2 separate regions of the Homo sapiens genome follow, and region 1 is linked to region 2. Evidence: promoter capture Hi-C in human tissues and cell types (Jung and others, 2019). All regions are on one chromosome and are shown on one strand. The core of a region is centred on a gene start or on the middle of the fragment in contact, and the rest is flanking DNA. Distances in the headings are between cores, read along the strand shown. Region 1 has its middle 39 kb from the start of OTOS. Region 2 holds the start of OR6B2 (olfactory receptor family 6 subfamily B member 2).

The links. The method cuts DNA at HindIII sites, captures the fragments that hold promoters and counts their contacts. A contact is called where the count stands out against the background at its distance.
Region 1: a contact is called between a fragment that was not itself captured here and the fragment with the promoter of OR6B2 in region 2, in 2 of the 25 tissues and cell types used here (dorsolateral prefrontal cortex and lymphoblastoid cells).

The regions. Positions count from the first base shown.
Region 1 is chr2:240,178,354-240,181,295 of GRCh38, forward strand. No RefSeq gene overlaps it. Among named protein-coding and RNA genes, the nearest start is that of OTOS, 39 kb to the left of the region's middle. The HindIII fragment of the contact is 8,115 bases long and covers 1-2,942 here.
Region 2 is chr2:240,028,890-240,032,016 of GRCh38, forward strand. It overlaps OR6B2 (olfactory receptor family 6 subfamily B member 2), which reads right to left and starts at 1,540. Exons shown (of 1, transcript NM_001005853.1): 1 at 602-1,540. The coding sequence starts at 1,540. The coding sequence ends at 602. The HindIII fragment of the contact is 5,539 bases long and covers 617-3,127 here.

The DNA of each region.
Region 1 (2,942 bases), core at 426-2,925, 150 kb after region 2:
ACCCTCTCTGCAGGCATCATGAAGAGGAGCCCCAGGAGCTCATGGTCTAGATGCTGAGGATGTGACAACCTGGCCTTGCAATTAAGAAGCCTGGAGGGGCAGATGAGGGCACAGATGAAGGCACCGGCTAACAGCCCCAAGAGAGGAGCCACTTGCAGCCATCAGCAGGGATTAGAAGATCCCTAATCTTCCCGGGGAAGATTCTATATGTTGGAATAAAACAAGTCTCTCCTTTTCTCACCAGCTGTAGGACGGAGATATATAACAGATGTGTTCACAGTGCCCAAGCCTCCATAAATGACTAGGCAGAGTCTTCTGGAAGGTCATGATTTCACATCTCTCTGTGTGAGTAGTGAGCTGTGAAATGGCCCAAGAGATCTTGTCTCTCTGCAACCACTGGGGAGCGCTTGACTTGTCCAGGTGTGAGCTTCCTAATCCCTGCTGATGGCCGCAAGTGGCTCTTCTCTTGGGGCTGTAGGCTGGTTCCTTGAAAGTGCTTTCAGCCACTGCAGTAGGGCTTGAGTGAGTGGCCAGGGAGATGTTCATTTTCACTGGAGAAGCCTCAAGGAGAGAGAGAAGCAACTCTGGGCAAAGAAACTATGTTCTGAGGGAAAACTGGGTATGAGAGCCTGTGTGGCCACATCCACCAAGGGGAGTGGAGTCAGGGCCATGGATGTTCCAGAATAAGATTAATCAACATATGGGGTCAGAGGGTCCCTCCAGGGAGGTCCACTATTTCAAACCAGCCAGCATCTTCAACCTTTCCACCATCAAAGCTTCGCAGAGGGGAATATTATGAATAGCAAGAAATGTGCAGGAAGACTGTTTCTTCTGTTCTATTTCTGCTCCTTTAAAATAGCTCTGTATGTCCAACAGCTTCCCTGGGTAATAAGACCCAACCTTAGAATAAAATGCACTGCATTCTTCAAATCACGAGGCCAACTCGGCAGGGCAGCCGTTGAGAGGAGGTGGGACCCCCTGGAAGTGTTTCCTCCTTTGTTAAGAGGCTGTCATGGTGATGGGGCCACAGGATGGAGCTCTAGGAGAAGGCTGGGTAAATACTGGGATGTTCCATCTCACAAGCTCTTGGCAAAGGTTTAGATCAGGTTTAGGCTTGGACCAGGCCATGAAACAACTCCCACGTCCAGGTGGGTCTCGAGGCCCAGGCATCTTCCCAAGGCTACTGGCCCCAGGGCCCTTGGCTGGGTGATGCAGGCCTAGACCCTGCATCAGCGCTCCATGGCAAGGAGGGGTCCTTCTGGCCAGGGGCCCTGGGCCAGCACAAGGGCAGGAGCGCACTGGAAACAGCCGCATACACCGGAAACAGAAACACAGGTGGACACAGGAGCCCCCACGCCACCTGACTTTCTCTGGCACCCCGTGCAGCCCAGGAGGAGCCAGTGCAGGATGAGAGAGGTCTCTCCCAGCCCCAAGCCCTGGGTGGGCTCCTGCTGCACTCCAGCCCAGGGGAAGATTTGTCTTGGCCCCACCTGTGCCAGCCCTAGGATGGAACTGCTGACACTGTTGGGAAGCCCAGACAGAGATTTATGAAAAAGCTGTTTCCACCAGTGAGGACCACATAAAAACAGGATCCATAAAATATTGAGTGAAAAAATAAGATTGCAGACAGATTTACATCGATTCTCTTTTCCACGCGCATGTTCTCATTTTTTAATTCCTGTCCAAGAAGCCGAACGTCTCCTCCTCCCTAAAGGCACCCCCTCCCGTCCAGGCCTGTGCTTCTCCTCCCTTCCCCACCTCTCCAACTCCCCAGAGCCTCCTGAGCCCACCACTGAGATGGGGTCTTAAGCCCCTGCCCTGTGGTATCCCAGGCCCTTGTGTAATCCCCACCCCTGGGGTGTGAGCTGGACCTAGTAACTTACTTCTAAAGAGCAGAATATGTCACTTCCTGGATTAGGTTACAAGAAGACAGGTTCTGTCTTGCTGGCCCTCCAAGTGTTTTCTTATCCTCTACTCTCCCTCTTTCTCCCTCACTCCCTCTGAGGGTAGCCAGTAGCCACATTGTGAGCAGCCTTATGGAGAGGTCCACATGGAAAGGAACAGGTGCCTCTGGCCACAGCCCACAAGAATCCAGATCCTGGCAGCAGCCACGGATGTGAACTCAGAAGCAGATGCCCCCATACCAGTCCTGTGATGACTGCAGCAGCAGCCGATGCCTGGATTACAGCCTTGACAGACACCAAGAGGCACCAAGCTAAGCTGTGCTCAGATTCCAGACCCACAGGAACTGTAAACTTACAGGTATGTGTTGGGTCTGGCACACTGGCTCATGCCTGTAATCCCAGCACTTTGGGTGGCCAAGGCAGATAGACTGCTTGAGCCCAGGAGTTTGAGACCAGCCTAGATAACATGGCAAAACCCCACCTCTACAAAAAATACAAAAAATAGCCAGGCGTGGTGGTGCTTGCTTGTGGTCCCAGCTACTCAGGAGGCTGAGGTGGGAGGATGGCTTGAGCCCTGGAGGCTGAGGTTGTAGTGAGCTGTGATCAGGCAACTGCACTGCAGCCTTGGCAACAGTGCAAGACCCTATCTCAAAAAACAAAGTTTGAAGCTGCTGCATTTTGGGGTAATTTGCTACACAGCCATAGATAACTAATACACAAAATGAAACTTCCCTAACTCTCCTGTGTTTTAAATCATTCCTTCACACTTCAGAGAAGTCTGTTTTGCTGCCTTGATTTCCCTCCATCCACCCTCCTTGATCACCTTCAACCTGGCCATGTCCTCCTGCTTCCCTCCTGAAACTCTCCTCTGGAAGGTCCCCAAGGACCATGCAGCCACGGCACACCTGCTCCTCTTCTTTCTGATACTAATGGAACATTAACATGCTCCCTCCAGCGGCTCTAGGGGAGAATCTTTCCTTGATTCTTCCAGCTTCTGGTGATTTCCAGCAGCAGTTTTCAGTGTTCCTTGGTTTGTGG
Region 2 (3,127 bases), core at 290-2,789:
CACCTGCTGGGACAGGTGGGACAGGGTTTCACCCAGCATAATGTATTATGTATATATAATACACAATACAGTATATGCATTATCCCAGTATATGTATTATCCCAGTATGAATGTATTATGCATTGTGTATTATACAGTATAAATGTATTATTTATTATGAATATTGGATAGCAATGAGAATGCATGAATTATTGTTACATGCAAAAACATCAAGGATTCACTCAAGCAACACGGTGAATGAAAGAAGCTGAACATAACAGGGCACATACTTTATGTGTAAGCCCCTCAGAAACACCAATGCTAGCATCTGGTTTTGGAAGTCAGGACAGTGCTTTTTGTGGAGAAGGGTTAATGACTGGGAGAGGGCGTGAAGGCAGCTTCTAGTTCTTGATCTGGGAGCTGGTTCCATGAGCACAGTCCTTTTGTGAAAACATATGCAGACGAAGGCTTGTTACTTGTGCACAGTTGTGTAGGTTTGTTAAATTTCACTTAGTTCTGTAGGTTTGTTAAATTTAACTTAAAAATTAATTTAAAGAGCACAAAGTGCCACATACAATGTTGTTTCATCACTACAGATTTTACTCTAGGACATTTAGTTGTCTTAGTGTGAAGTTTGACCCAAGCCCAAGGCCTTTTTCAAGGCGTCCTTAAATTCCTTGTTCCTCAGGCAGTAAATCAAAGGGTTAATTATTGGCGTGACAACAGTGTACACGGCAGAGATGAGCTTGTTGGAGCTCTGGGAATCAATGGCTTGGGGCCGGACATACATGAAAAGCAAGGCTGTATAGAAGACGGTGACCACGGTGAGGTGAGAGGCGCAGGTAGAGAAGGCTCTCCAGCAGCCGGTGGCCGAGGGGATGCGCAGGACAGCCAGGGTGATGTGCCAATATGACAGTATGGTGGCCAGGAGCGGAAACACCAGGATGATGAAGGCCAGGATGAAATCCACCAGCTCTGCAGTGGAGAAGTCCGTGCAGGCCAGCTTGAGGATGGGGGAAATGTCACAGAAGAAGTGGTTCAAGACGTTGGAGCCACAGAACGTGACGCTGGAGATAAAACAGACCTTGATCATGGAGATGGTGAAGCCACTCACAAAGGAGAAGCCCACCAGCTGGAGGCACAGCCCCGGGGTCACAAGGACGTGGTAGCGCAGCGGGTGGCAGATGGCCACGTAGCGGTCGTAGGCCATGGAGGCCAGAAGCACACACTCGGTGCACACCAGGGAGCTGAAGAAGTAGAGCTGCGTCATGCACCCGACGAAAGAGATGCGTTTCTGCTGGAGGAGGAAGCCCTCCAGCATCTTGGGGGTGATGTCAGACACGTACCAGATCTCCAGGAAAGACATGGAGCTCAGAAAGTAGTACATGGGCCTGTGGAGGGAGGTGCTGCTCCAGACGATGAGGATGATGGCCAGGTTCTCCACCAGGACAAAGAGGTAGGTGAGCAGGAAGAGGAGGAAGAGCAGGTACTGCAGCCCTGGGGCCGTGGGGAGGCCCACCAGGATGAAGGTGCTGACCTTGGTGACATTCTCCCCACTCATGCCTCTGTGCTTGGGAGCTGCAGGCCTACAAAACATCAAAGAGCAAGAGGAAAGGGCTGCAGGGCAGCTGAGGCAGAGAGAGAGTGGAGCTGGACTTGGATGGGGAGTTTTGGTGCAAAGAGAGGCCACGTGGCTCCCCAGAGCACCAGGAGAGAGCAGTGATCTGCTGATCTTCTGAGTTTTAAAGTAGAAAACTTCTGTGTGCTTGCATTTACATATAACCATGAAGTAGGAATGAGGAAGAGAGTATATGCTGAGGAACAGAGCCGGGCAGCTCCAGGGTGGGCAAAACCCAAAGCTCTGAGTCCAGGGGCACTACCAGTCCACACGTGCCTGGGGCAGCTCTCAAGATCCAAGTGGGCATGGACACAGAGCTGGCCCTCCTTAGGGTCCTTCATCTGAGGGTTCCTGCAAGTCGGGGCAGCAGCCTCGGCATGAGGTGAGGGGCTATCAGCCTACCAGGGCAGAACCCCAAACTGGGCTAACCAGCCGGAGGAATGCAGGGAGGGCTCCCAGGAAAGGGCTGCCTGGCTCTGGGGGACCTGGTCCACAGGTGGGGGAGAGAGAGGGTAGCCACAGCCCCTTGCCCCACAGGGCATCTGGTGGTTCTTTTCATTGGCAGTCTAGGTGGGTTGAATGGCAGACTTCCACCAGCTCACAGCTGGGGAGGGTGACCCCAGGTTTCTGGCCCAGGATGCTAAAAATTGATGAGAAGACTAGGAGAGGGCCAGGTGGGTGCCGAATAATCTGGAGTCTGTGCTGGGGAGGCGTGGTGCGCGGCACTTACTGGAGAGCCTCATGGTGACGTGTAGGGGGTTGGCTAGACAAGTCGAGTTCATGGAAGAGTTGCAGGCTGAAAAACAAACTTCTAGAAGGGAATTGCCCAGGGACAGGTTTACACTTGGAAACGCACCTGTACTCCTGCCGTCTAGGGTGAGCATTCTGTGGGAACCCAAGATCATCCACTGGGGCGGCATGGCCATTCCCTGCCTTAAAATGCCAGCGTGCAGTTCAGAGTTTAGGATCAATTTCACAAGCATTTACTACTCACTCCAGTCACCGCCTACTGTCTCCCCAAAACAAAAGCAATAAGAACCCCTGCCATTAAAGGGGTCTCAAGATGTGAGTCTGAATGTAGCCTCTCTAGACACCATCCAGGGTGGTGACTGTGTCCTCTTCCCAGCTGAGTGGCCACAGGGGGCTTTAAAGTCCACAAGGAGGAAAGTTGGGGTCCACAGGAGCTCCTTGGAAGGCCAGCAGCCCCCACCTGTTGACTGGGTTTGCTGGGGAGAGCTGGCGGTGGGGGTAGTGAGCTTTGGTTCTTGTGCTTTTAACCCAGAACAGTAGAGGCACCTATAGATTTCTCTTGATTATTTGGATAGTGGTAACTGATCATTAGTGAGTTGGCTAGTTAATACCGGATTGATTCATTAAATTGAAACTGTGTTACTTTACAAATTCAGGGCCCTTTACAGCACACTCTATCCATCCCCTGAACTTGTTAGACAATGGCTGCATTTTCTTTTAAATAAACTTTTTATTTTGGAATAATTTTAGATTTACAGAAAAGTTACAAAGAGAGTGCAG